6 separate regions of the Homo sapiens genome follow, and all the other regions are linked to region 6. Evidence: promoter capture Hi-C in 16 types of primary human blood cells and fetal thymus (Javierre and others, 2016). All regions are on one chromosome and are shown on one strand. The core of a region is centred on a gene start or on the middle of the fragment in contact, and the rest is flanking DNA. Distances in the headings are between cores, read along the strand shown. Region 1 holds the start of DNAJC15 (DnaJ heat shock protein family (Hsp40) member C15). Region 2 overlaps DNAJC15 (DnaJ heat shock protein family (Hsp40) member C15). Region 3 overlaps EPSTI1 (epithelial stromal interaction 1). Region 4 holds the start of LINC00400 (long intergenic non-protein coding RNA 400). Region 5 overlaps DNAJC15 (DnaJ heat shock protein family (Hsp40) member C15). Region 6 holds the start of ENOX1 (ecto-NOX disulfide-thiol exchanger 1).

Evidence for each region. The method cuts DNA at HindIII sites, captures the fragments that hold promoters and counts their contacts. A CHiCAGO score of 5 or more calls a contact.
Region 1: the fragment with the promoter of DNAJC15 here is called in contact with the fragment with the promoter of ENOX1 in region 6 in 10 of 17 cell types (fetal thymus, M2 macrophages, M1 macrophages and 7 more); the score reaches 14.2 in fetal thymus.
Region 2: a contact is called between a fragment that was not itself captured here and the fragment with the promoter of ENOX1 in region 6, in 1 of 17 cell types (M2 macrophages). The highest score is 5.0, in M2 macrophages.
Region 3: a fragment that was not itself captured here is called in contact with the fragment with the promoter of ENOX1 in region 6 in 9 of 17 cell types (M2 macrophages, M1 macrophages, naive CD4 T cells and 6 more); the score reaches 11.0 in M2 macrophages.
Region 4: a fragment that was not itself captured here is called in contact with the fragment with the promoter of ENOX1 in region 6 in 1 of 17 cell types (M2 macrophages); the score reaches 5.1 in M2 macrophages.
Region 5: a contact is called between a fragment that was not itself captured here and the fragment with the promoter of ENOX1 in region 6, in 6 of 17 cell types (M1 macrophages, erythroblasts, megakaryocytes and 3 more). The highest score is 9.5, in M1 macrophages.

The regions. Positions count from the first base shown.
Region 1 is chr13:43,021,057-43,025,982 of GRCh38, reverse strand. It overlaps DNAJC15 (DnaJ heat shock protein family (Hsp40) member C15), which reads right to left and starts at 2,397. Exons shown (of 6, transcript NM_013238.3): 1 at 2,249-2,397. The coding sequence starts at 2,356. RefSeq lists enhancers at 1,899-1,948, 2,459-2,508, 2,519-2,578. The HindIII fragment of the contact is 4,162 bases long and covers 1-3,207 here.
Region 2 is chr13:43,065,596-43,070,095 of GRCh38, reverse strand. It overlaps DNAJC15 (DnaJ heat shock protein family (Hsp40) member C15), which reads right to left. Exons shown (of 6, transcript NM_013238.3): 2 at 4,359-4,410; 3 at 1,093-1,166. Among named protein-coding and RNA genes, the nearest start is that of DNAJC15, 44 kb to the right of the region's middle. The HindIII fragment of the contact is 4,148 bases long and covers 708-4,500 here.
Region 3 is chr13:42,966,367-42,971,311 of GRCh38, reverse strand. EPSTI1 (epithelial stromal interaction 1) reads left to right here. Exons shown (of 11, transcript NM_033255.5): 2 at 642-700; 3 at 2,135-2,218. Among named protein-coding and RNA genes, the nearest start is that of EPSTI1, 23 kb to the left of the region's middle. The HindIII fragment of the contact is 719 bases long and covers 2,516-3,234 here.
Region 4 is chr13:43,110,401-43,115,156 of GRCh38, reverse strand. DNAJC15 (DnaJ heat shock protein family (Hsp40) member C15) reads right to left here. Exons shown (of 6, transcript NM_013238.3): 6 at 944-4,756. LINC00400 (long intergenic non-protein coding RNA 400) reads right to left here and starts at 1,992. Exons shown (of 3, transcript NR_047013.1): 1 at 1,874-1,992. The HindIII fragment of the contact is 2,111 bases long and covers 2,177-4,287 here.
Region 5 is chr13:43,080,495-43,084,864 of GRCh38, reverse strand. The region is part of intron 4 of DNAJC15 (DnaJ heat shock protein family (Hsp40) member C15); the gene reads right to left. Among named protein-coding and RNA genes, the nearest start is that of LINC00400, 30 kb to the left of the region's middle. The HindIII fragment of the contact is 2,445 bases long and covers 53-2,497 here.
Region 6 is chr13:43,783,527-43,788,349 of GRCh38, reverse strand. ENOX1 (ecto-NOX disulfide-thiol exchanger 1) reads left to right here and starts at 1,378. Exons shown (of 17, transcript NM_001347969.2): 1 at 1,378-1,698. RefSeq lists a silencer at 4,203-4,497. The HindIII fragment of the contact is 7,995 bases long and covers 1-4,823 here.

The DNA.
Region 1 (4,926 bases), core at 1,148-3,647, 760 kb after region 6:
TATGTTTTCTAATGTAGTAATGTCTAAGTATTTACATATTTAAATTGTAGACATGTTAACATGTTATTTTCTTTTTTTTGAGACAAAGTCTCGCTCTGTCGCCCAGGCTGGAGTGCAGTGGCATGATCTCCGCTCACTGCAACCTCTGCCCCCTGGGTTCAAGCAATTCTTCTGCCTCAGCCTCCCTACTAGCTGGAATTACAGACTTGTGCTACCATGCCCAGCTAATTTTTGTATTTTTAGTAGAGACACGGTTTTGCCCTGTTGGCCAGGCTGGTCTCGAACCCCTGACTCAAGTGATCCACCCACCTCAGCCTCCCAAATTGCTGGGATTATAGGAGCGAGACACCGCTCGCAGCCTGTAGACATGTTATTGTCTAATAAAATATTTCACCTTTATGTCTCAATTAAAGCATTATATTGATTATTAAAAGTTATGTTTACAGGTAGATTTTATTGTCTATGAATCTGACTTCAGGATTTCAGGATATTACAGGACACAGACAGTTTGAGAATCACTGGCCTACACTTTAGCCTTCAAGTACCTGGACTACTAAAGATGCTTCCTATGTGGTACTCTGGATTCTGTAAACTCTCTCCTCTTCCAAGTAAAAATACCTACACATGTAAAAGTCACCAATATTAGTTCTATCTTCCAATTACCACAGCTCCCAACTACCTTGAAAGCCTGATACTCGGATTTTTACGACTCTCCACAAAAGGATTACTTCTGCCTGATCTTGTTCAGCTGTATCATACACTGAATACTATATCCAGAAATCCTTATTTCTAAGGAGTCAGCAAGTCATAAGGGAAAAAGTGTAGCATTTGGAATCGTAGATCTGCCACTTACCAGGGATGATCCTGGACCAGTTACTTAAAACTTTCTAAATCTCTACTGCCTCATTTTTTTTTCTTTGTTGGAGACAGGGTCTAGCTCTGTCTCTCAGGCTGGAGTGCAGTGGCGAAATCATAGCTCACTATAACCTCAACTCCTGGGCTCAAGTGATTCTCCCGACCCAGCCTCCCAAGCAGCTAGGACTACAGGCTCACACCACCACACCCAGCTAATTTTTTTTTTTTTTTTTTAGCAGAGATGGGGTCTCCTGTGTTGCCCAGGCTGTCCTCCAAACTCATGGCCTCAAGTGATCCTCCTGCCTGGGCTTCCTAAAGCGCTGGGATTACAAGCCTAAACCACCACTTGGGCAATATTTCATATTGAATGTTGAAAATTACCATGCAACTGTGCATATATCAGGTTAAAGAAAATACATGGTTAAAATCAAACCCACCTGTTTCTCTTCAGTTGTTTAATATGGCTACAAAAAACTTAAAAATATGCCGGACGCGGTGGCTCACGCCTGTAATCCCAGCACTTTGGGAGGCCGAGGCGGGCGGATCACGAGGTAAGCAGATCGAGACCATCCTGGCTAACACGGTGAAACCCCCGTCTCTACTAAAAATACAAAAAATTAGCCGGGAGTGGTGGCAGGCGCCTGTAGTCCCAGCTACTTGGGAGGCTGAGGCAGGAGAATGGCCTGAAACCGGGAGGCGGAGCTTGCAGTGAGCCGAGATCGCGCCACTGCACTCCAGCCTGGGCGACAGAGCGAGACTCCGTCTCAAAAAAAAAAAAAAAAAAAAAAAACGTAAAAATACGTATGTGGCTCACAATATGCTTCTGTTGGACAGTTTTCTGTTAGACCCTTCCTTTTTCCAGCTCTACAGTTCATCCTGAATACACCACTTGGAGTTTCCAACTGGGCCCTGTTTCTGTGCCGGAGACTTTGGAGACAGTAGTCCTGGTACCCGAAACACTTTTTCCCCTTCTCCTTGCTGAATGGACTGTTTTTATTCATTCAGATCTTAATTTTTAACTACAGCTTTCTCCAAGAAGCGTCCCTGATCCCACCACGTCCCCTGCAAGACGTTTTTAGGGCCTCCTATGAGATAGGAAAATCCACATACAGCACTTATTTTACTGTATTTGCAATTGCCTGTTTTCTGGTTTGTGTCCCAGACAAGACTGGAAGCTCCTTGAGGAGACAGATCCTCAGAACTGCTCCGTCTTCCACGCCCAGGCGTCAAAGCCCAGCACAAAGCGGTCTCTCCACTGAACAAGTGAGCGCTAGGGCACAGACCGTGAGCGAATGCGGGGGAGTACAAAGGTTCAAGGGTGAGGCGGTAGAGGGGGCTGAAGCAGAAACTACAAGGGAGCCAGAGAGGGGTGGGGGCCGCTGGCAGGACTCACCAGTCTCTGCTGGTCGACGTCGGCGTCTGGCCGTTTGGCCGAGGGCTGCAAGTACTCAGCGTAGCGCAAACTCTCGCCAACTGGAGCGATGACACCACGGGCAGCCATGGCAAGGCGGCCCGGAGACTCAAGGCGCCGCGGCAGTGACTACGAGGCGGCCGTAGGGACAAACTAGTTAGCGCGGTTTCTTCTCGCAGATCCAGTGGACTCTGCGCTCGTTGTGCTATTAAAGGCGAGGTTCCCGGAAGATACCCTTCTCACCCGAGCTGGGTAACGTGTCCCGTGCAAGCACGGGGTCACACTCCGAAAGGAGCCAAGGGCACTGGGACGTTCTTGAATCACACTCACAGGCGCAAAGCCAACGCGGACCCTCAGGGAGCTTTATATACTTGGGCCTGGTCCCTCCCCAGGCCGCCGTAAGGGACTGGGCTTAAGCCCTGCGAACTGATGTTGGTCGAATCAGATGACTGCCCAGTAAGCTCGGAGTCTAGCTGTAGTGCCTGAGGGTGGGCTTGCCTGAGCTTTCCTGACCCCCTTCCGGGCAGCCTTTCTTCCCACTCTCAACTTCTGTTCGCACTTCTGTTTAATGCCACAGTTCTACCACCCCGGGAGAGAAATTAAAGAGGCAATTTGCTTACTCCACCCCCAAGTAAATGGCTGTATTTAAGGTGAAATTACACAGAAGAAAGTTGTGGCCGGGTGCGGTGGCTCACGCTGTAATCCCAGCACTTTGGGAGACCGAGGCGGGTGGATCACACCAGCTTGGCCGACATGGTGAAACCTCGTCTCTACTAAAAATACAAAGATTAGCTGGGTGTGGTGGTGCGTCCCTGTAATCCCAGCTACTCAGGAGCCTGAGGCAGGGGAAAAAAAGTTGTGAGCAAGTAGGTAAATCTTACTCTCCCTCAAATGAGTTTGTGCTGATTTGTATATATAAAAGCCCATTTTATTATTAAGCTTTTTTTTTTTTTTGAGATGGAGTCTCGCTCTGTTGCCCAGGCTGAGTGCAGTGGCGCAATCTCTGGCTCACTGCACCCTCTGCCTCCCGAGTACCTGGGATTAAAGGCACGTGCCACCACACCTGGCTAATTTGTGTATTTTTAGTAGAGACGAGGTTTCACCATGTTGGCCAGGCTGGTCTCAAACTCCTGACCTCAGGTGATCCGCCCGCTTCAGCCTCCCAAAGTGCTGAGATTACAGGCGTGAGTCACCGCGCCTGGCCTCCATCAAGTTTTTAGAGCAAAAATTAACCAGCAGTTGAAGCGTATGGTGTTTTCCAACTTCTGTACCAACGTGGCAGCTCTTTGGCTCCTTATACCCTTTGCAAAATCAGCTGACAGGAAGAAAAAGCTTTATTTTTTTTCTATTCCTGAATTTAAAGTTTTGAGGGTCTATTAATTTGTTCACTTAGTTAATATTATTAGCATGTCTAAGAAGTTAGGTCCTAGAAATTTACAATCTTGTAGGGAAGATAACACTGACACAGAATAATAGTACATACCAGAACATGAGCACATGCATTGCATAGCAGTATAAAGAGAACTGGACTGGGAATTAAACCGCCATTGCAAAATTACAACTGAGAAAGAGATCTGACCTAATCAACACCATCTTGCTTCTAACCTCCAAGCTGTCTTGTACATTCCTGGCCGTAGGCCAAACTAACTTTGGGAGGAATGTAATTCATAGTTTATAGTTTGAAACAAAGATGATAAAAGCCCTTTCCCAAAACAAACCTCCTTCTTGCCTGGGGACTAGACTGCCTTTGTAGGACTAACAAATTAGCCACAAGATCAGAAATTATGACTTAGGAGTCATGCAGCTGGAGGCTACAAGATTCTGACCCTCCCCAAATTGCTGCTGGAGCTAACATCACTATTGTAAAAACTACCACCAGTGCTTGAGATATTTTGCAGACCCCGCACTTGATGAATCAGCTGGCATCACCCAGATCGATAAACTGGCTCATCTGATCTCGTGGCCCCCACCCAGGAACTGATAACGCAAGACAACTTGGACTCCCTGTGATTTCATCTTTGACCTGACCAATCAGCACTCCCAGCTCACTGGCTTCCCCCTACTCACCGAGTTGTCCTTAAAAATTCTGATCCCCAGCTGGGCGCGGTGGCTCATGCCTGTAATCCCAGCACTTTGGGAGGCCGAAGGTGGGTGCATCATGAGGTCAAGAGAGTGAGACCATCCTGGCCAACATGGTGAAATCCCATCTCTACTAAAAATACAAAAATTAGCTGGGCGTGGTGGGTGCCTGTAGTCCCAGCTACTCGGGAGGCTGAGGCAGGAGAATCGCTTGAACCTGGGAGGCAGAGGTTGCAGTGAGCAGAGATCGCGCCACTGCACTCCAGCCTGAGGACAGAGTGAGACTCCGTCTCAAAAAAATAATAATAATAAATAAATAAATAAAAAATTCTGATCCCTGAATGCTCTGGGAGACTGATTTGAGTAATAATGAAACTCCAGTCTCCTGCACAGTCAGCTCTGCATGAATTACTCTTTCTCTATTGCAATTACCCCGTCTTTATAAATTTGGCTCTGTCTAGACAGCCAGCAAAGTAAACCCATTGGGTGGTTACAGGAATAAGGAAGACATCTGAGTTCTAGTGTACCTCCATTATTTTCTGGGCTTGTATAACTGAACATATCCATTAACCTCTCCAAAT
Region 2 (4,500 bases), core at 1,532-4,031, 720 kb after region 6:
CCATAATATAAAGATACTATACATAAACATTGAAAATTTCTGGTTTTATGATCATGAACTAGAACTTGATAAATTTAATAGCTGTGATAATGGTATTAACATGACATTCTGTCCTCCAATAAATTATAAATTTGGAAAAAATGACAGTCTTTCTGGTAAGTTTTGAAATATTTATTGAAATAACATATATAAAGTAGGTAGTTTAGTAGTTTTACATTTAGTAGTATTATATCAACTTTGACATAACTTACTTTCCCTGTTTAATTACTGTTCATTTATTTAATAAACATTTAGTGAGTCCCCATCCCTGTGCCAGGAACTCAGAATAGCAGAATAGCGGATGATCAACTTGGTTTGCAGCAATTTGACAATCTCAAGTCTCAACCAAGTTGATCTATCCCAGATCTGCTTCTGTTTCCCTGAAGCCAATGTTTACGCTGCAGGGCCTCACTGACTTTTCTTTATATTGTCTTCAGTGGTTACAAACTACAATCCATACTGTTGCTTTTACGGATACATACTCTCATTCATTTTTTCACTTACATTCAGCTCCCCAGAGTAGCTATAATGCTGGTACAAAAATGTATAATAAGTTCTACAGGATTTCATGGTTGAAATCTCATAATTTTATGTTTGAGATGGCCAGGCATGATGGTATAAGGGGACTAGTTTCAAATTACAAGATGGCATCAACTCTTGGATAAGCTTCATCAGGACAAGAACCATGTCTTCTTTGTTCATCAGCTATTCCAAGCTCCTGGCACAGGGATGGGGGACTCACTAAATGTTTATTGAATAAATGAACAGTAACTAAACGGGTAAAGTAAGTTACATCAAATTTGATGTAATACTACTAAACAGATTATAATAATTAGATGTCAAAACCAGGAATAAAGTTAGATATAAAAATAATGTGACCAATAACTTAAAAGAAACTGAGCCAGTAAATTAGACAAACTCACCAATGATATAGTGAAGGAAACAAACTTCTACAAACATTGGAAAATCCAAGACATTTTCTAAGTTAATTGAAATATGTCATATGAACAAAAATCAAAATGAGTCTTCTAACTAAAGCCACGTTTAACTTACAGGAGTTGAAATCTTCTTTGCAGTTTCTGTGATAACTTGTTCTAGAGGTTTCCAGATCCGAAATGCGTAGCGACCTAAATAGTAAAGGGAATAAAAGCAAATGTATTTTCTATAATCAAAATCAATCAACACCTTCAAAGTGCTTGCAACAGTATTTATTGATAGTTTATATATGTTATTGCAATAAGTATTTCAAAACTTACCAGAAAGATGGTCAATTTTTTCAAATTTTTAATTTATTGGAGGGCAAAATTTCATGTTAATACCATTATCATAGCCATTAAATTTATCAAGTTCTAGTTTATGATCATAAAACTAGAAATTTTCAATGTTTATGTGTAATATCTTACATTTATATTATGGTATAGGTCACAAAAAAAATAACATCCTAGTATTCTTTATACAACAAACTGTAAAGTCCTATTACATATAAAAGATACTTATAATACTAAAATGGTTAATTGTATTGCTTTTTATGATAATCACTTTGAAATATATAGAAAACAAATTATATTTATGATCTATACTACACAGAAATGGTTTTAATCAATTATCTCTAAAGTAAAAAAGCAATTACATATGAAATACTTACCAAGGATGTTAATTATCAATTTTTCTCACTGAGGATGGCTACTCTCTCTGAAAACTTATTTTTAGTTCTTTCCCTAGTTGGGAATCCCAATAATCAAAACTCCCCTGAGTTTTAACAACTAAGAGTCAATAGTAAAACAGGTTCTAAATTATTTTGAGGGCATCAAATAAGAGTAAAATATTATCTAGCTACTTTATCTTTTGCACCCCAATCAGATTGTGTCTTCTACTAGTATCTCTTTCTCCAAGAGTCTTGCTAGAAAACCAGTATATGACACTACAGGCTTTAATTCAACTTCTAACCATAAGCCTATTTGCAAATCAAGAGTTCTACTGCAAAAATTCAACTACCTATGTATACTGTTTTAGAAAAATTTACCTGCCTATGTATACTGTTATTCTGTGCAAACATGTTACAGTGAAAGACAGGATGCCAGAAATGGGAAAATGTGAAGATAAAAAGGTCTTGAGATAAAGGAGAACATTAAATAAAGTGAAATTAAATGAGGCTGATTCCCTAACTTGCCTGTATCTCTTATCACATAGATGTCATCTTCCATTTGATTTTATAATAGTATGAAATGTAGCTTTTATATTACCTCAAAATTCTTCAAAACCACAGTGACTGACTTCTAATCTCAGTTAAAAAGCAGTTAAATGCTTCAAGAAGTGACACCTGGAGGTTTACTCTAACTAGAAGACCTAGTTCTAACACATCTAAGTGTACTTTCTCCTAAATTCTATTATTTGGTTGTATTTGGCTCTGGAAGAGATCTTGTTGTTATTTAATATAATATTCTAGTCAGTAATACGAGTTTGGGAATGGTGTGGTCTATAAAGAATACACACACCAATTCTTGTCATTTTACAAAGACGACCCTGGAAAAAATACATCTTTATCTAATTTCAAATCAAAACCTTACATTTGAATTCATAACTATGCCTACTCTAATTAATACTAAAATTCCTTTATGTTTAGGGGCAAGTTTGTCAGAATTCTGTTTGAGACATGATATTCTTCTCATAAAACCTCAGAAATTCATTAAGTATAAGTTATATAACTGAGACATAAGACCTTGATGACAAAAACATCAAGAGAATCTGAACCACTGATCTAGATTTTAAAGTTCTGATTGTTGAAGTGTTTCATCATTTCCAAGACAAAAGGTTAAAATAGTGTTTTAAATGATAATTGTGAGAAAATAAATACCATACAAAACAAGACCCTCTTATTTCTCATTTTTCTATCAGATCTTACTAAACTCTATATAGCCAAAATGGAATGCAGCTCTGCCTAAAAGAGCCAATTAACAAGATCAAACCGATAGAACTTACAAACACAAATGCTAGAACAAAAAAGTAAATCTTTATCAATAAGGACATATTCTCAAATTAACATTTAATTAGGATATAGCTATGTAATTTAAAACTGCTGTAAGTTAATGACAGACTCAGCAAATTTACTTTAGATCTTCAGAACTATTCTTTCGAATGGGCCGGGCACGGTGGCTCACGCCTGTAATCCCAGCCCTTTAGGAGGCCGAGGTGGGTGGATCACGAGGTCAGGCGATCGAAACCATCCTGGCTAAATTTTGTATTTTTATACTAAAAATACAAAAAACATTAGCTGGGCATGGTGGCTGGCGCCTGTAGTCCCAGCTACTCGGGAGGCTGAGGCAGGAGAATGGCATGAACCCGGGAGGCGGAGCTTGAAGTGAGCAGAGATCGCCCCACTGCACTCCAGCCTGGGCAGAGCAAGACTCCGTCTCAAAAAAAAGAAAAACTAGCATTGTGCTGTGCTGAATAATGGCCTTCAAAGATGTCCATGTCCTAATCCTTGGAACCTGAGAATATGTTACCCTTATGTAATAAAACTGACTTTGCAGATGTGATTAGGTTCAGGATCTTGAGATGGGGAGATGATCCTTGATTATCCAGGTGGGCCCAGTGTAATCACAAAATCTTTTTAAGAGAGAAGGAGGAGAGTGACAGTCAGACAGAGGTTGGAAGATGCTAAGCTGTTGGCTTTGAAAATGGAGGAAGGGTCCATGAGCCAAGGATGAAGGCAAACTCTGTAGGCCAGGAAGGGTAAGGAAAGGGCTTCTCCCCAGAGCCTCTGGAAGGGGCACAGTCTTGCCCATTCCAAAAAAAAGAAAAAAAAAAGAACTATTCTTTCGAAAAACGTAATTTTAGCAGTGAAAAAAATTCCCCAGGGTTTATCAAGGTAATTATACCAATATGTTTAGAGACAAATCAATAAACTACACGGAACAACTATGCTCATGAGAAAGAACTGACAGCTTAAAATGTATAAACCTGTCTGCAAGAAAAAATAAATATGGGAGAATAAAGGCACTCCATGCCACTTACATTGCATAATATTAAAATTTCTTTTTATAGTATACTATACTTCAAACTGAAAAAAAATGCCAGGAATAAACTATTATTGGAGCTAGTTTTTCTGGCTTTTTATCACTAATTTTCTTCCCTATAAAGTTTATCTAGATTTTGCTACAATGACAAATGTTCAGTAACTACAAATGGTGGAAAGAATGAGAATGTATTATGTCTGAAAACCAAAACCTCAGAATACTAAGGGTCTACTCATGAATCACTGTAGATGCTATTTGGAAAGATTTCTCCTGCAATTTATTGGTATGTATTCTTTATCTTACCTGCAAATGCAAGAGCTGCAACACCCAGTCCTACAGCTATCAAACTTCTTACCTATGGAAGAAAAAATGAATATTACTTATGATGTAACATGCTGGGTTTTAAAAGTAAATCATTTTTAATAATGAGAATAATTACATTACA
Region 3 (4,945 bases), core at 1,626-4,125, 820 kb after region 6:
CAAAAGCTCACAATATTTTAACAGCTTCCTAGTGTCACAGAGGTGAATATTTTTCTTAAAAAGTCTTCCCTGATCCGCCTGGTTGAAATGACTCCTTGCTTCTCCGAGCCCCTGATTATGCTCAACCTGTGTCCCTAGGAGAAGAAGAGACCAGTGGACATAGGCCTAGAAAAGTCAAAGCCTAAAAGCCAGTTAGTTACTCAGATCATCAAGAGGAGGTGGCTGCATTGCAAATGGCCTCTAGGATCAGTCTGTGGGAACAGAAAATGTACCAATGTTTCCTGTACCCCGGTGTGGTCACACAGAAGAGAATGCCAATCTAAAGCCATCTTAAAGGAATTTACTCACAAGCACCACCTAGAGGAACGGTGGAGCCCTACAAGGACAGTACACCAACTAGTCACTTGTCACTCATCGAATGCTTTATATTTTCATATTTGGCCATGTCCTTTGTTTTACTTTGACATCAAGATTGTGAGGTCCCAGAGAACAGATCAGGGTCTTAAGAAGATTATCTTTCATAGTGCCTATTTGATGGTAATGATCATAAATACAGTATAATAGAAGGAAAAATATCTGGTGGCTTATATGCATTGGTAGTTTCTCATGGTAATAAGCATTTTTTTTTCTCTTCCTTTTAGCACAAGTGCATACACCTTGATAGCACCAAATATAAACCGGAGAAATGAGATACAAAGAAGTATGTATAGTCATTCATTTAACATTCAGAATGCTTCTCTCTTTTTACAATTGGTTTGTTTTGGTGTGAAGTATTTTTATTTTCTCATTTATATAGACTCACCAAATCTCATCAAGGTTTTTTGTTTTTTTTAGTTTTGATTATACCTTTAAAAATATTCTACTATTAACACTTCTAAGTTTGTTTCTCTACGTTAGTAACAGAACTCATGACATGATGGTAGATCCTGGATTTCTGTTGGCTTGAACAACTTTACACTTATTGCCAATAAACCTCCTTGAGGGTAGGGACCACATCTTACTCGTTTTTGTGCTCTCTGTACTTAATGCGTACATAACATGTTTAATTGATGTACAGTAAATATAAATGCTGCCATTTAAAGTTATAGCATTATCCTTTAGAGGTGGAAGAGAACTAAAGTTCATTTAGTTCACAAAGAAATTGTAGGCTTGCTCAAGTCCAGCTGTGGGGCTATGCTGAAATTCGATGGTCTCCTTTATTACATGATTGGTAGGAAATTTAACTTCATGACTAATGATGGACAGAAAGGCACAAAAGGGAAAAAGCTCTCTAAAGAGTCTCCACCGGACATGTAGCTCCGGGTGGGACAGCGGGTCAGTGCAGAATATGACAATCACAGCCATGCAGGGACTATGGGAACTGCCAGCAGTTCTGGTATCTTACAAGCTTTTGATTTAAATACTTAATAGGAGATTAAGTCTCAATGTGGTCTGGATTTCGAAATGTTTCAGAATTTGTTTTTCTAGTAATGGACATTTGAAACAGGTCTCATGAGGAGATAAGGGGAGGCGCTGGAGTGACAGAACTAATTTCTCTCTGGCGCCCCCTGCTGTCGTGCAGAGTGAACATTTAGGAAATGAGCCCTGCTCCCCAGGAAGCCGACTCTGCACAGTGGTCTGGAGTGCCTGAAACCAGAGCAAGGGTCTCCACCTGTAGCACCGAGCCCTCATTCCCTAGAGTCGCAGTAAGCTTGGGAGCATTGAAGATAAAGCGAGTATGGGCATCAGAATTCTCTGGGGATATGTTTACCTATGTGTGGAAAGTTCTTATTGACGTGAAAATATTCTAGTTTTGCACACATTTTCTATAGGTAACTTTAAAAATTAACTTGATATAGAGTTTTAAAAATGCCAGAATGGTAGGAAAATCTATACTTCTTTTAGTAGGAGCCCAGGTGGTTTTTCAAATTCGAACCCTCTGTGCTGACTCTTGGTGAGAATGTGCCACAGGGCCGGGCCCAGGATGACCTGTACGGGTCAGGGCTGAATATTGTGTTTCTAACCTGGAAGCCTTGTTCACTCATGCTCACATATAGTTAATTGCCTTCTAATAGTTGTTTCTTATGCTTTGAAGGGACTGGTTTTCTTTTAGAAGTCTAATAATTGACGATTTGATATTTCTCGCCTGGCTTAGTTGCGGAGCAGGAGCTGGCCAACCTGGAGAAGTGGAAGGAGCAGAACAGAGCTAAACCGGTTCACCTGGTGCCCAGACGGCTAGGTAAGCAAGCACAGCCGCTGCCGGAATGAGGGAGGGCGGGGCCACCTATGGATCCTGTAAGCAGCTTGCATATGTCTGTCTGTGAATGTCCATTGTAGTTTGTTTGGTCATTGTGCTGCTTGGGTGGAATGCATTTAATTGTGTGTGTGTGTGTGTGTGTGTGTGTGTGTGTATTTTTTTTTTTTTCTGATTTTCTGCAAGTAGCAAACCTGTAATGCCAGAGTTCTATGGGAACACAGTGATGGCTTAATTGCCAAATAATTTAGAGCCTCTTAGATGATTGACTCTGAAAAAGCTTACCTGGGGCGCTGCATATGCCCTGTCATAGCACTAGTCAGGATGGGAGTAAATGCTGGCACAAGCATATTAATCATGGCAGTTAAATGTTAATCTGAAGAAAAGGAGTGGAGAGTCAGTTCCAAGAGGGAGATGAGAGTGAGCTGGAAACCCGGTGGTGGGTATAAGAGAAACATCACCTGTGTTTTTATTCTACAGATAGAGACCTCTGGGCCTCTGGAGCAGGTGCTGCCAGTGTGATGAATTGTCTGGGCCGCCTTTGCCGGTGTTTGAATCATTCAGAAGGGATGCCACCTAATGGGAATCATTCACATCTTTTCTTTGCTTTTTCTCTTCTATCAGCAGCCGAAAATTTAAAGGGTTGGACACACAGTGTCCACAGATTTAGTTAATACAAGCATGTCTTGTGTCAGGGGCCACTTACGGTTGTGATAGTTTTAGAGAAGTTCCCTCCCCACACCCTGCCCCCCCACCAAGAACATAGGTAAAAATAATCTAATTTGGAAATTATTTAATGGGAGGAAGTAATAGTAATATTATCATCATCCCACTGTATTTCGTGAAAAGGGCTAATCTCAAGTGCCTCCTTTGTGCAAATGAGCCAGACTCGAAGGGTACAATCAGAAAACAGCTTTAATCTTTCCTAGCTTGGCCCCTGAGATTGGCTATGTGAGAACAGTCTTTCTCAGGCTTTTTGGATGATGTAAGAAATTAAAGCTTTTTGGTCTCTTTCAAACAGTAGAGTGACCTAGCTAATTCTAGGCCTAAAACAGTCTCATTTCAGTAATTAATGTTCAGTCTTAGGTACTGATCAAAATTCTGTTACTAATGGAGATGAGAGCTTCTCCCCTGCTCTAACCCAGGCCTGTTTCAGGTAGGAATCCAGCAAGTAGAACAGGGTGTGGCTGGACTTTTCTCTATTCATGGCTCTGTTCCCAGATTCTGACCTTTCTGGGATTGAAGGGGGAAGTGGAGGGAGATAAGAGAGTTCGGGGTTCGTAATGCAGTGATCCTTGTTTCTTTGAGCCTAGGTTTACACTGACTGCTCGTTCTTCTTCCTGGGAATCTTCGAGTTTTTCAGCATCCCCCACTCTCTGCTACCCATCTCCCACCTGGATTTCCCTGATACAGACGATTTCCTCTCCTGTCGGCAGGGCTTGGCCTCACTGTTGGCTCTTGGTAGACTCCTTTTAGGGTTCCATTGTTCTTGACATGGCCCTCATAGGCAAGTCCCTTTAGATGGCTTTAGGTTGGCATTCTCTTTCATGAGAATCACATTAAAAGTACAGGAAATACTTGTGCATTCTTTCTTTTCATAAACTGTGAATGTGGGCCATTTGTAATGTAGCTACCTCTTCTTGAGGACTCATCTCAGTGGCCAATGGACAACAGCCTTATACCTTTAGGCTCTAACTGTTCTAGGCATGAATCCAATAAGACCCTCAGACTCTTAAAAATGCAGGTTGAGGTCTCCAGCTGATTTTCTTTTTTTTTTTTTTTTTTTTTTAATTTATTTTTTTATTGATAATTCTTGGGTGTTTCTCACAGAGGGGGATTTGGCAGGGTCATGGGACAATAGTGGAGGGAAGGTCAGCAGATAAACAAGTGAACAAAGGTCTCTGGTTTTCCTAGGCAGAGGACCCTGCGGCCTTCCGCAGTGTTTGTGTCCCTGATTACTTGAGATTAGGGATTGGTGATGACTCTTAACGAGCATGCTGCCTTCAAGCATCTGTTTAACAAAGCACATCTTGCACCGCCCTTAATCCATTTAACCCTGAGTGGACACAGCACATGTTTCAGGGAGCACAGGGTTGGGGGTAAGGTCACAGATCAACAGGATTCCCAAGGCAGAGGAATTTTTCTTAGTGCAGAACAAAATGAAAAGTCTCCCATGTCTACTTCTTTCTACACAGACACGGCAACCATCCGATTTCTCAATCTTTTCCCCACCTTTCCCGCCTTTCTATTCCACAAAGCCGCCATTGTCATCCTGGCCCGTTCTCAATGAGCTGTTGGGCACACCTCCCAGACGGGGTGGTGGCCGGGCGGAGGCGCCCCTCACCTCCCGGACGGGGCGGCTGGCCGGGCGGGGGGCTGACCCCCCCACCTCCCTCCCGGCCGGGGTGGCTGCCGGGCGGAGACGCTCCTTACTTCCCAGATGGGGTGGCTGCCGGGCGGAGAGGCTCCTCACTTCTCAGACGGGGCAGCTGCCGGGCGGAGGGGCTCCTCACTTCTCAGACGGGGCGGTTGCCAGGCAGAGGGTCTCCTCACTTCTCAGACGGGGCGGCCGGGCAGAGACGCTCCTCACCTCCCAGACGGGGTCTCGGCCGGGCAGAGGCGCTCCTCACATCCCAGATGGGGCGGCGGGGCAGAGGCGCTCCCCACATTTCAGACGATGGGCGGCCGGGCAGAGACGCTCCTCACTTCCTA
Region 4 (4,756 bases), core at 1,983-4,482, 680 kb after region 6:
CATATTCATCTCCTGAAAAAAACAAATCCAAGCTCCTGTTTTATGGTAGACAGGCCCTTTATGTTATGCAAGCCCAACACTACCAGTCCTCCTCCTTCTACAGATTTGGAAACATCACTCGATAGTGCCCATGATATCATGAGACCTTTAGGCCAGTTAAGCAACTGCAACATACACTCGGCCCACAGAATGTCTAACTGGCCTTAGTAGATATTAAGATGTGACCACTTCATGGGGCAGGATGTGTTTGTATGTGTGCCTGCCTGCATGCACACATAGGGGAAAGACAATGAAAGAGCCAGAGAGGGGAAACAGAGGGCACATATGTCTGTACTCTCCTCCTGTTGGAAGTTGAAAACAGCAGCCTTATTCTTTACGCTAAGTATAGGTTCCAGGCATTTGTGCAGTCATATTCAATAATATATTCTGGGCCTGACAGTTCAGATGTGTCAGCATTTCTATTACCATTGCCTATGTTTAGAGTTCTTTATGCAGTCAAAAGTGCTAAGGCCAAAAATTGATATGAAGATAACAGAGGCAAGATATAAGTAAATAAACCAAGGAACTAGGCACTTTTCTTTGGTATTTGCATTACAACATAAATATAAAAATCAATTTAAAAGTATTGTTGGGCTGATTTCTATTTTTTCCCTTCTTTATTTTGGTATGAGAGGTAAAAATCCAAGTTTCAATAATGGCTTCTGAGAAAATTCACATGTCTATGATTTGGGTTTCTAACAGTTGCTTTTAAAAGTGAACCAATCGATACTGTGTCCTGAGGGACAACTGGGCTGAGCATCTCATGAGGAAGTAAAGGGAAGTGTAGAAAAAGTGAAAGACTAAGATAGACTTTCAATAAATAAAAGAGTTCACAATGTAGATGAAGTTGTACAACACATGAGGTGTTCTTCAAGAATTATACAACAGAAAAATTGAGTGTAAATTCAATTTTAGCAGATTAGGTTTTATTTTAACTGCATCGGGAAAACCACATAGATAAAACTATCTTATTGTTTATCCTTTACAATTTTAAAGCAAAACAAACACAACAGCATTTTATTTATTTAATTGTAGTGCATCCGTATTTTCACATATTGGATTTTAAAAAATCTCTGCTTACAAGAAGAAACGAAAGCCCAAACAAGAATGTAGTATGTAAGCGAGTACAAAATGAGATAGAGTAGAAGGCAAACTGATTACCTAAGTCCCAAGAAGTCAGGAAACAAAGTGTAACTCAGATCCAAGCAGGGTTAACCAGGAAAGGCTGCATTTCTGTGTGTACCTGCTGCTTTCTTCAGCACTGCACTGTACAACATTCTGGGGCAGCCTGAGAGATGCAGACTATACAAATATAGTCTCACATCTCACCACCAAAGCACAAACATTCCAGAGGCATGGAAGCCAAAGTGTAAACACTTCTGCAGTCAACTCTTAACTATTCACATTTACAGAAGGAAAGAGCAAAGGCACCACTAATCCAAGAATAGATAAATGGAAAGATCACTGAGTTAGCTTTGGAATACACTCTTGCATATAGGTGTATCCATGTTCAAGGAACTCACAAGTCTGTTATGAATATTAGTCATAAGGAGTTAGAAACTTTCTCCAGGAGTCAGAAACCTTTTCACCATTTATTACAGCTACTGGAAATAGAGAATTAACTGGACAATCTCAAAGACACATTCTTAGACTGGTAACTAAAGTTCCATTGACTCCACCAGACAACTATAGAACTATACACAATTTTGGAATTTGGCAAAAAAAGTATGGCATGGACAAATAACCCTGTTCAAAATTGAAAATAAACAGCAGGAAACAATTTTTAAGAATTCTATAAAAGTACTGAAATTCCCTTTCAATTGCTGCAAGTTACCTCATTTCAGTTGTCTTGTTTTCATTGCCTCTCTGCTCCTTTCAATATATTCGGTTTTCTTGTTTTCATCTTTAATACACTGAGCTCTCTCTTCATTTCTTGTGCCAGGTCTGCTGCTTCACCTTCATGAGCTGTCTTCAGAACCTTGCTCTGGATGTTCTCCTTGAAAGCTCTTGTCCATGAACATTTCAGATAAAATCTTATCAAAGCTTCCTCCGTCATCACTCTGAGTCAAAGAAAGTCACTCTGCTAAACTTTACAACAGAACTTTTGCTATGTGCACTTGGATGGACATCGTAAGCTTCCAGGGAAGAATTAAAGAGATTAGGTACTCCTTGCCCATGATGCACAATGACACTGGATCCTTTCGTAAACCTAATTTCACATTTATAATCCCAGGTCACATGCATCAAAAAATGAGCCAAAAGTCATACAAGCCCCTTCATTCTGATTCCCACATATTTAGAATGAGTGCAATATAATATAAACAGCATGCGATTCAGAGTCTGAATTTGGTTCCTAGTGCCACCACTTACTGGCTATGTAATCTTGGAAAAGATCCTAAACTCCTCTGAGCCTGTTTCTTAACCTGTAAAATGGGGATACATAATAGTACCTCTTAGGCTGGCTATGAAAATCAAGGTAACATAGGTAGAATGTTTGGCACAGGTACTAAACGTTAGCTAATATTATTAATGCTTTTCTTAAAATGAACTTATTCTAATTATTGGCTTTTAGCATTATAGTTTAGATGTCCATATTGAACCAATATCTCTATGTGATTTTTATCCTGTCATAATTGAAGTTTGCCACTGTTGATCCCCCCTGCTAAGTTGAGATACTAATTTGAAATTTATGGCCAACATCTAGCCTGAGTGATCATATTCCACCCGTGTGAAATTAAGCTCCCTCTTAATGCTGAAGATTGAGTATTTCTCTACATCTATGTAATATAGTCTGTTCAGACTTAAAATTTGGAGCAGTGCTGCTAGATACTGTTGAATCGAACAGAGAGGGAAAGGGTTATTATGGCAGGAAGAGAAATGAAGATTACTTAATGAACTTGCATTTCAATTGAGCAGGGTTTTTAATACAAAAGAAAGAGCTTTTTATAAATTCTTTTGCTCAGCAACAATAAAAAGAGGAAAAGAGCACTCAGCTGGGAACAATAGCTACTCAGCTCATAAAAAATCATTAGAAGGAACATTTTCTTTGTCCACCATGCCCAGCAATTTTGCTGGTGGGCAATTATCCAGATCACTTAGGTTCCACCTATAAAAATGAGTCCAGAGAACCTTCTCAACTTTTCCAGCTAATAAATTATGCTAACAGAAGTCCTCATCTCTTAATGTGTGTAATGCCACCATAAATAAAATTTTGACTCATAATTCATGGAATGTTTTTGACAAGTAGATGATACTGATCCAGCCATTAATAGGATTTGCTCTTTGGGTTGCTTTTCCATTAGAAGGGACGGACTATGCTGACACATTTACTCATTCCCATCAAATCCTCCTTGCAGCCAGGAGCCTCCATCTAGTTGATGACTGTTGGGCGAGGTGCAGGGTGCCCGAGGACAGCATGGTTCCACTGTGTGAAATTGGCTGGTGTACTTGGATATTTAACTTTTCACTGCAGTCTCCGTAGCTCATCTTAAGTTGGTTGACTCAAGAGAAACTTCATATTCTTGACGTAAAGAGCCTGGCTGATTCATCTTCTCCCACAAATGGTATTAAACCATATTAAGCTAATTGTCAAGTGTGTTCAATTACCTTATCAATAAAAGCTCTTTTCTGTGTTCAAGGTTCCCCAGGACAACCAAAAGATTTCTGCACATGAATAAAATATATTATTTCTAATGATGCTGCTGGGTGATCAATCATAAGCACGCCCATTAATGCAACTCTTATATGTCTTGTTAATTAAAAAGTATGAAGGAAAAAGTTTCCTGTTTAAGAATGTATTTTTTTCAGTTTGAACATGTTGCACATTTTAAGAATGAATTTATATCTTTACTGCCTGATATAGTAAGTATTCAATATTTGCTGAATGTCTAAAATATATTTCATAAAAAGTAAAGTGCTTTGAAGACTAAACAATGTATTCCAAGCCCAACATTTTTTCCTTACTAAACTTCCCTCCACTTTTGACTTTACGCTGAAGACTGGCACCATCAACTAAAATCTAAATAGCTTTCTATGTTCCCCTTGAATTAACTGTCCTTGACTTACACTTTCTCTGCAATCGGAATTGTTTTATTTTTAAAAGGCCTTCCTAGGCCCTCAGATTGCATCTAAGATGTAAGTATGCACAGAAACTGCAATATCAACAGAGCTTAATTAAGCAGAATATGCAATGACAGCAAATATGCAAGCGCAATCTTTACTGAAGACAGGTAACCACTCAAATAAGCTTTTTACAGATAAGGAGTTGGGGGGAGGGTGTGGCTGGTGAAAATTCAGTTTTATAAGCCTACTGCCATTTAGATAATTACTCCTGAATATCTGCAACTGTACTTGTTCACTGCAACAATAAACAAGACTGATATGATCCTTGCTCTCAGAGAGCTCATAATTCATGATATTACTTTTGCTGGATGCACCAGAAAAAGAGGGATACATTTTAACCTTCTACTATGTAGGTATAGTTGTGGAGATCTGGGGATTAGGATGGCATCTTTAGGTACAAGGGTAACAGCAGAAAAATAGTTGTATTTATTATCTGAAACTTTCTGGGCTTATATTTCAAGTAACTGTAGTTCAATTATACATGCCTGACTTTGTTCTTAAGTAATGCCTTCACAGACTCAAGGGGGAAAAAAAATCCCAAACCTGTCCTGCTGCATATTAAAGATGAGCACTGATTCCTTCAGTCCTCTCTATC
Region 5 (4,370 bases), core at 26-2,525, 700 kb after region 6:
CTTTATGTCTCATAGTTATTTAGCTTTGTGAAAAAAACCCATGGGAAAAGCTTGGCTGTTAAAGCCTATGCTGTAAACAAAAATTAAAGTAGATAATTAAATAATCCTAAAATTATTTGGGTAAAACCCAATGTATCCAGTATTGGAAATGTTGCTTATTAGTACATTTTCTAGGCAAGGGAAAAAAATTAACACTAACAACAACAAAATCCTACTACTGCTACTTAATAGCTATACTATCTTGTTTAAGCTACTTAACTTTTCTGAGTCTCAAATGGGGATAATAATAGTTGACTTAAAGCACAGTGTAATTATTGTAAAGCTCAAAATAATTTAATTTGCATGGATGAACCACAACATAATAGCTAAAAGCATGTGCTTTTACAGTTAGTCAGAAACAGGTTCAAATTCTTGATTCCACTACTTATTAGCTGTGAAAGTATGTCTTGCTTAAACTCAGTTGCAATTTTCTCATACGTAGCATACACGTAATAAAACCTACCCCCAGGTTTATTTTAAAGAAAAATTAGATAATATAAGTAAAAAGATTAACATAACCTAGCACACATGAAAGTAAAGGATGCTTATGAGACTGTATTAGATATCTCCTGCATTTTGAAAATAAAGTGTAAATAACCTAACTTAACATTTCTTGGATGGCTCACAGCATTGTCATTATTACCAATTAAACTCTCAAGGTCTGCAGATGTTTGCTTGTCCTCCTACTAAATGGACCTAGAATGTTATTCATTTAAGTTCTATTTTGAACAGTGCCTCCCCTATGCTATCAGCTGTCAATCCTTGATTCTGCTATTGTTCTAGTCTTTGGCAGTTCCTTGCTAGTTACTTGCTACCTCTGATCTGTGGGTAAGTGATAGATCACCAAGCACATTAAAATGCACTATTAATTGCTGAGTAGGCACATAAAATAGTCTTCCATGAGTAAAATGAATTAAATATTTTCCTATAAGGACTTAAGAGTATTCCTCTTGGCTGTTTACCTATGTCTTTGAAGCAGCATTCTAAACTTACTTTTTGGCTTGTAGGTACCTCCCAGATAAACAATTAAACATTGTCTGGTTAAAAGACTACTGAATTTTGAGAAAATAACTGTTAAACATCATACCAGAGGTATGAACACTATACTGTTTAACTGCCTATTAAGAAACAAAAAAAATTACACTGAAAAATTACAGCTCAATGATTTCGATTTCTGTGGCTAATCTACATTTATCAACTCCTTTTTTTGCTACACAGGTGCTCTGTGGCACATCTTGCCTTTATTACTTATGTTTTCTAGCTGTTCTGTATGTATTTGGCATGTTGTGTTAGGTAGATTCTAAATAACTTTAGGGCTGAAACTATGATTTGTATCTTAAAATAGAAATTAGGATTGTAGGCCGGGGGCAGTAGCTCACGCCTGTAATCCCAGCACTTTGGGAGGCTGAGGCGGGCAGATCACAAGGTCAGGAGATCGAGACCATCCTGGCTAACATGGTGAAACCCTGTCTCTACTAAAACTACAAAAAATTAGCCAGGCGTGGTGGCGGGCGCCTGTGGTCCCAGCTACTCGGGAGGCTGAGGCAGGAAAATGGCATGAACCCAGGAGGCGGAGCTTGCAGTGAGCCAAGATAGCGCCACTGCACTCCAGCCTGGGTGACAGAGCAAGACTCCGTCTCAAAAAAAAACAAAAAAAAGAAATTAGGATTATATATCGTACAAGTGCTTAATGCATTTTACATCACCCTCCAAAAATGACTGTAAAAAGGTAAACTCCTTAAAATAACAAATACTCCATATTAGTAAATACTAATATTATAAAGGATTACTATGCAAATAATTTTAAAGTAAAAAAGGGGGAGCTTTAAAAACCTATTTCATAAATTTCATCACCATGTGGCCCTCTAAATAATGAGATAAGTTCAGTAAAATCCAAATTTCATATATATATACACACACACACATATATATACACACATATACGCATACGCACATATATGTGTGTATATATATATATATAGGTGAATGTTCTGCTGAACCATTGTATTTTTTTAGAAGATATATGGCAAGGTCCATTTTATTCTAGATATTAAGTTTTAGTTGAGCACATAATACAAAATCTGAAAATTACTCCGTCAAAATTTCCTTGATAATTAATTACAATGCTCTGAAAATCAGTTCCACATAGTTTTGTACATAAAACTCCACAACGCATTATGCATACTGAGGTCCACCAACCACTGAACTAAAGTAAACACAAGGAAGGAAAGTTCATATGCACAAGTATGGCATTCAAAACACTCTGCCTTTAAGATAATAATGATCAGACTCCTAATGGTGAGCTCTGGAAATGAGACCTATTCTGCTTTGCTGGCAGTGTTTATTTCCTTTTAGTTATTATTATATTAAGTCTCTTGGACCTTAATACATTTTAATATTAATACATGTTTGTTGCTGTAAAGATTAAACAACATGAGAGAAGCCTAGTTTTTAAGCTTAGTATAAAAACTAAATGTAGCTATGATGATATACCTCCAGTATAACTTTAAATATGATGGTACCTAGACCAGAGATTTCAAACACCTCCCTAGAATGCATCTGGCTGGCAGTGGGGGTATGTGGAGTGGTGTTCTTGGACCTTCTGGCAAATGGAGCAGTTTTGGTTTCATCTTTTTTTTTTTCTACTACTGAGCTTTTGAGTAACATATAGTGATATGGTTTGGCTCTGTCTCCACCCAAATCTTATCTTGAATTATAGCTCCCATAATCCCCTCATGTCATGGGAGGGGAACCGGTGGGAGGTAACTGAATGATGGGGGCGGGTTTTCCTGTGCTGTTCTCATGATAGTGACTAAGTCTCATGAGATCTGATGGTTTTATAAAGGGCAATTCCCCTACACATGCTCTCTTGCCTGCTGCCACTATGTAAGATGTGCCTTTGCTCCTCCTTTGCCTTCTGCCATTATTGAGGCCTCCCCAGCTATGTGGAACTGTGAGTCCATTAAACCTCTTTTTCCTTATAAATTACCCAGTCTTGGGTATTTCTTCATAGCAGCTTGAGAATGGACTAATATAGTTTATAAACAGAATTCTACAAAAGTTTTTAGAAAGCTTAAAAATCATAAATGTGCCAGGCATGGTGGCTTCTGCTTGTAATCCCAGCACTTTGAGAGGCTGAGGCAGGCGGATCACAAAGTCAGGAGATCGAGACCATCCTGCTAACACGGTGAAACCCCGTCTCTACTAAAAATACAAAAAATTAGCCAGGCGTGGTGGTGGGCGCCTGTAGTCCCAGCTACTTGGGAGGCTGAGGCAGGAGAATGGCGTGAACCTGGGAGGCGCAGCTTGCAGTGAGGGGAGATCGTGCCACTGTACTCCAGCCTGGGCAACAGAGCAAGACTCTGTCTCAAAAAAAAAAATCATAAATGTGCATCATTTCATATAATACACAATACTGTTGATAGGTTCTTAAAAACTGTGATTTTAAGCAAAATGATGTATGGCAGGTCCCTGAATAATGTCATTTCCTTCAACATCCTTTCATTGATTTAAAAAATTGGTTTCATTATAGTCATTTTGTTTAAAGTCACAGTTTACAAGAACCCATGGGTGATATTAAGTGAGGACTTACTATACCAGGTATAAAAACAATTTTCCTGGGCAGCTTTGTAAAATAATTCAGGCTTTTTGTTACAGACATGAGTCATATTGCAGGACACTATTCTCTTGCAAGGAAAAACATAAGGCAAAGACTCAAATACACATTTCAATAAACAATTCTCATATGCAATATGTCAGAATGTATAGTATCATCTAGAACACATACAGTATTTTTAAAATAGGTTATCAAAAGGATCGGCTCCATTTTGCCTTCACCTACCTGTTATATAGTCTACACAGCTGAGATTCAATGAATATACTCACATCTTAAAATTATCTTGTCATAATCAACATTGCCTGACTGAAAAGAAAGGGCTAGAGGAAAGCAGATAAGTTTCATTTACCTTTCCACTTAATGTGTTAGGACAAATATCTAGCTTCTGCGTTCGTGACAGACATGGAAAGAAACAGGAGCCAAATTTTTTTCAGCACCTGATATTTGGTAGGTATTATGTAAAAAGGTATCATCATATCATTCTTATATTATTCCAACAAGGCAGAATATTATTACTCTCAATTCAAAAATGAAGAAGCCAAAGTATAGAAAAGCTAAAAACAAAACAAAACAAAAAAGCTTGACCAAGATCATACAGGGCAGCGCCTAAGCGACAGACTCAGGGCAATAATCTGCTTTGCTTGGCTGCTATTTATTGAGTAGTTAGTAAGTACCATGTGTTGCAGACATATGTTCACTGTGGCAATATTTACAA
Region 6 (4,823 bases), core at 129-2,628:
GCCCCCTCACACCCAGGGCATCCCACTGGGGTCCCTGCAGAGTGCTTCTACATGCATCCTTTGTTAAGGGTGCACAATGGATAAGTATTATTTTCTTTCTTTGCATTGGGGTTCTGACCGCCAGGGGGAAAAATAGCCACACACAAGGAAATGGCATAAGTTAAAATCAGGCAAGCCTAGTGGGGTGGTAATGACTTTCCCAGCATCCAAGTCTTTGCCTTCAGGTTACGTGAAGCTAGAAAACAATGTCATTCATTCAACATTTACAGGGAACTCACAAAGTACAGAGTACTATGCTAAGCACTGGAAGGCATGCAAAAGTGTGCAAAACACAATCCCTGCATTGAGGATTCCTGCCAGAAAGGGTATTTCAAGTATTACCCAGACCTTACGACCCTTGAAGAAATGCTTGTGTGAATAAAATCCCACTCAGAATTTAAAATAAGCAAGGAAAAGTATACTACTAAGACAATATATCTGTTAAGAGGCAGAGAATGTAAATGTGCTTTAAACATTTATTTCTGAAGTATTACAATGTAGTTGGGATGGAGGATCGGGGGATGTGGGTGTGTGTGGGGAGGTGGTGGGAGCGGTTCTTGGACGAGCCTGACTCTAAGGAGGCACTGCTTAGATGCCTGCACAGCTAAGTTGAATCCTAACAAAGAGGAGGCCGGCATTCTTACCTGGGAAGTGGGTAACTTTGAGAAAAAGTAGCCTCCAAGGAGGAAAAAAAGGCAACATGTCACCTGGGGTTAGGATCCCCTCACCCTTACCAACCTGAATGCTGACCGCACCCCGGCCGAGCCACTCTGGGCCGCACACCCCGCATCATCTGCCCAGGCCACGCGGCCCAATTCCACCGTCTACCCCAAGCCCACAATCCTGTAACACGCCCGCTCCAGCCTGGAGTCGGCCACGTGCGCCCGGGTTCTTCTCTTGGCCCTTCAGCGGGCCCGGCCCCTCCAAGGTCGCCGTAGCAACCGTGCGGTCCCTCTCTCGGTTCCCCCGCTCCCAGTAGAGCAGTCCCGACCGCGGCGGCGGTGGCGGGAGCGAGCGGCCTCGGCCCCTCCCGAGAGGGGGCAGCGCGACCGTGGGCTGCGGGCGCCGCCTCTGCTGCATCGGTGGCTGCGCGCTCCGCTCGGCTCTGCCGGGCTGGGATCCGGAGCCCTAGCGCGCCTCGCTGACTTCCCCTCCTCCTCTGCTGCCGCCCCGTGGGCAGCTTCTCCAAGCGAGACACGCGTTCGATCCTCCTTCCCCGCGTTTACGGATTTCCGGGGTCGTAGAATTTTGCCTCGGTCCCTACGAGCATCTCTCGGCCTCTCTCCCCCTCCCCTCGCGACTCCCCCACCCCGTGGGCGCGCGCGCACCCATACACTCACACTCGCAGGCGCGCGTGCGCACGCCCGCGCGCCTCCAGCCGCGGAGTCTCCAGCGCCCCTCAGCAGATCCCCGCTCTCCCGGGCGCCGCTACTCACACAGGCTTCCAGCCGCCACGGGGCGTCCTCTGTCTGCTGCAGCGGCGGCGGCAGCAGAGGGAACGGCGACTGCAGCCCGGCCGCGTCTCCCAGCTCCGTGCCCGGGACAGAGTCCGGGAGAAGCAAAGGAGGAGGAGGACGCCGAGGCTAGGAGGAGCCGCGCCGCGCCCGGCGCCCCACTCCGCGCAGCGGGTTGCCTCCGCTCCCCATACGGCGGCCCCAGGTAAGCAGCTCCGGGGCCCGCAGCCTCCCTGGGGCGTCCGGGCTCCGAGCCGGGGTCCTCTGGTCTCACCCCCGCCACGGCACCTGGATCTAGACTGAGAGGGGAGTGGGCGAGGGGGGAGGGGAGTGGAGCTAGAGGTGAGGCTGGTGAGGAGGGGTGCGTGGACGCGTGGGGGCTTCGGTGCAGCCCCCACGCCCTTCCCCGCCGTGCCCCGTCTCAAGCTCCCTCACTTTTACGCGCCCGGGGGTGCCCAGCGCCCCAGACAGCTGTTCCCCGCTCTCCCCTCCGCCCGCCAGCCAGTGTCAGCTCCGGGCTCCGCGCCCGCCGCGCGCCAGTCACCTCCCCTGCACCTTGGACAGCGCACCCCGCACCCGTCTCCCCCTGCGGGCGTCGCCCCCGGGACCCGTTCCTGCCCACACAGTGTTCCCGCTGCCCTCTTCTTTCAGGTTTTCACCCTCCCGCTCTGCATCCCTTTTCCTCCAGCCTTGGCGGACTCCGCTCTGCTGCGGGCCGGAAACTTTCCTCCCCGCCTAGTCTGCGCTGGGTACTGTTGTTATTCGTGACTGTCCCCTCTCGCGGGGAGCTCGGACACCTTGGACAGGTCTTCGTCGGCGGGAGCGCGCCCTGCCTGGCCCAACGCGAGGTAAAGGAGGCACTGGGGCAGCCGGACTCGGCCGCTGCCAGGGTGCAGAGCCCGCGCCTCGGCCGCTGGACGCCGGCCGCCTCCCCGCCTCTCCGGACCCGACACGTGCGAGCCTCCCACGGACGCGGCCCCTCCCAGACCACCCCACGTCCTCCCCCTGCACGGCCACAGCCACCCCATAGGTTGGACACCCGGGGCTCGCGGGTCCTGATTGGCTGAAGGCGTAACCCCGCCCTCTTTCGGAAGGGGGGTGGTTCTGGAGTGTTGTGGTTGTCATCCCGCGGCGAGCACATGGGGAAAGTGGGGTCGACAGGTGGGCAAGCCCAGCTCTGTGGAATCTCTGCGTCTCACTGTATAGCCACTGAGCCACGCTTCTTCACCCAGATACACTCCTGCTTCTCTCCTTTTCTCTCCCTCAATCTTTCACTGCTGTAACATTACATGAAAAAAACTGGCTTTGTAATCCCAATTTTGTTAAGATTGCATTTGTTTGGTGGTAGCAATTTTTAAAAGCAGACCCAGGAGAATGCAGGAAATACGTGCGTATGGAAAGGTTCCTGGCCAACTGGGCTGCAGATTTGAGTCTGGTAGTTTGGAGAAAGCAATGAAGCGTGCTTAAGGGATCTGAAGAGGGTGGAGAAAGTGGGAAGGAAATTGATTCCTGGAGGAGAGACGCAGGTGAGCGAGCTTGGAAAGCTGAGCTGGTGGGCCCGCTCGAGAGGTGGGTGCGTGCTGTTGGAGACGGCTCTGTCAAGCAAAGTGGTAATATTGGCTGGTACTTAGTTTATGGTTAACACACTCTGCTTTTGTTTTACTAGCGTTGCCACTTTGATAGAGACTTTATATTAATAATGTCTATTCATGTAATGGATATTGCTCATTCCAGTTTCTTGTAATATACAGATTTGAAAGTGATAATGAGTTTGAAAAAGTGAAAGCCCTCTTGGAGGAGATGCGTTAAACAGTTAAAGTGCTTTCGGAATATTGTGAGGGAAGACGGATGAGCATTGCATAAAATGCATATTGTTCTGGCATTATTTAGAGCCTTTGAAGAAATATATGTGTACGTATAAATGATACTGATTTCTCTTCATTTCAAAGCGTGATTGCCTCTAGCATTTTCCAGCTTTAATTCCTTCAGGCTGTTTTGATGTTGTGTCTGTACATCTAAGAATATTGTAATTCTTATCTTTAGAAGCCTTGTCAATGTGAAACAAACAGCAACTGATGCAAGTTAATGTTGACAACTTTATATTGAGTACACTGTGTGTTATTTTATTTGTAAGCTAGTGAAATATGCAAGAGTAACATAGCATGACTGTTGTTCCCCAGGGACCCATATCAAAACAAAGTGGGGAATCACATGAGGCTATTCCATGGAGAACAATTCAATTATTTTTAAGATGAATAAAATTTAAGATTCTTGGTTGTAAACAGCAACACTCTTTGAATTATCTTTGTACACATTGGTAGCATATGATAGTAAATCAACATATTAAACGTATTACATGATTCTAAAGTAGATGGTAAAGGCTTTCCATTATTATCATTTTTATATAAGTAGACAGGATTGCTTTTCTGACTGGAGGACCTCCTATTCAAGAAACAGGATTTGATATATGTGACAAATTGGAAATTATTGCTATTGTTAAGAAAATAATTCTGTGTTTTTATTTCTCTAGTTCATACCTTGATTTCCCTAAGGGATTTAGTTTCAAGTTGTGGGCCTATTAAATTTAGATGGGTTTGTATGTAGGAGAATGTATATAATCACATATGCATACATGCAAAATATTTGTATGTCTATCAGCACACAGTTGTATATTTATACACGTAATTTTAGGGTACATTCAGTGTATTTATTCGTATATATGTTATTGTCATCCTTAGAATTTTTTCTCATTTCTTTTTGTCCAAAAGGTGGCCCTGTTTTAAACTGTAGAAAGCATTATCACCAGTAGAATTGGCCAATAGATCATGGAAACAGACAATAGTATTTTGTTGCCTGGCAACCACCTACTGTGAATGAAAAACAAAGCAGTGACAGCTGCTTCCACATCCTGATACTCACACTGTAGCTCAGGCATTGCAACCCTCCAAATGAGACAGATCCACTAAGTTTCATTTGAGTAAGGTGAAGCTGTTTCTTTTTTTTTGGATGTTTTTTAAGGAATATTAAATGTTTTATTATAATAAGAATTATTGTGGGATGAAATGAAGCATCTAACTTCAATTGCCCTCTTAAGCCTAGTATAAACTGAAAAATGCAAGATTGGGAGGATTGTTTAGACCCTTCTCATTCTTCCCTTTTCACTCATTAAACATCGTAAGCAAATTTTCTGCTGCTGCCAGGTGCTCTTAGGATATTACAAAAAGCTGAGTTTTCTATAATACCTAAATAGATGGCAGGATTTTCCTGCTAGGAATGAAGTAGAGACTGAGGCTCTAGCCTGACCCTTTAATATTAAGGAACACTGAGGCA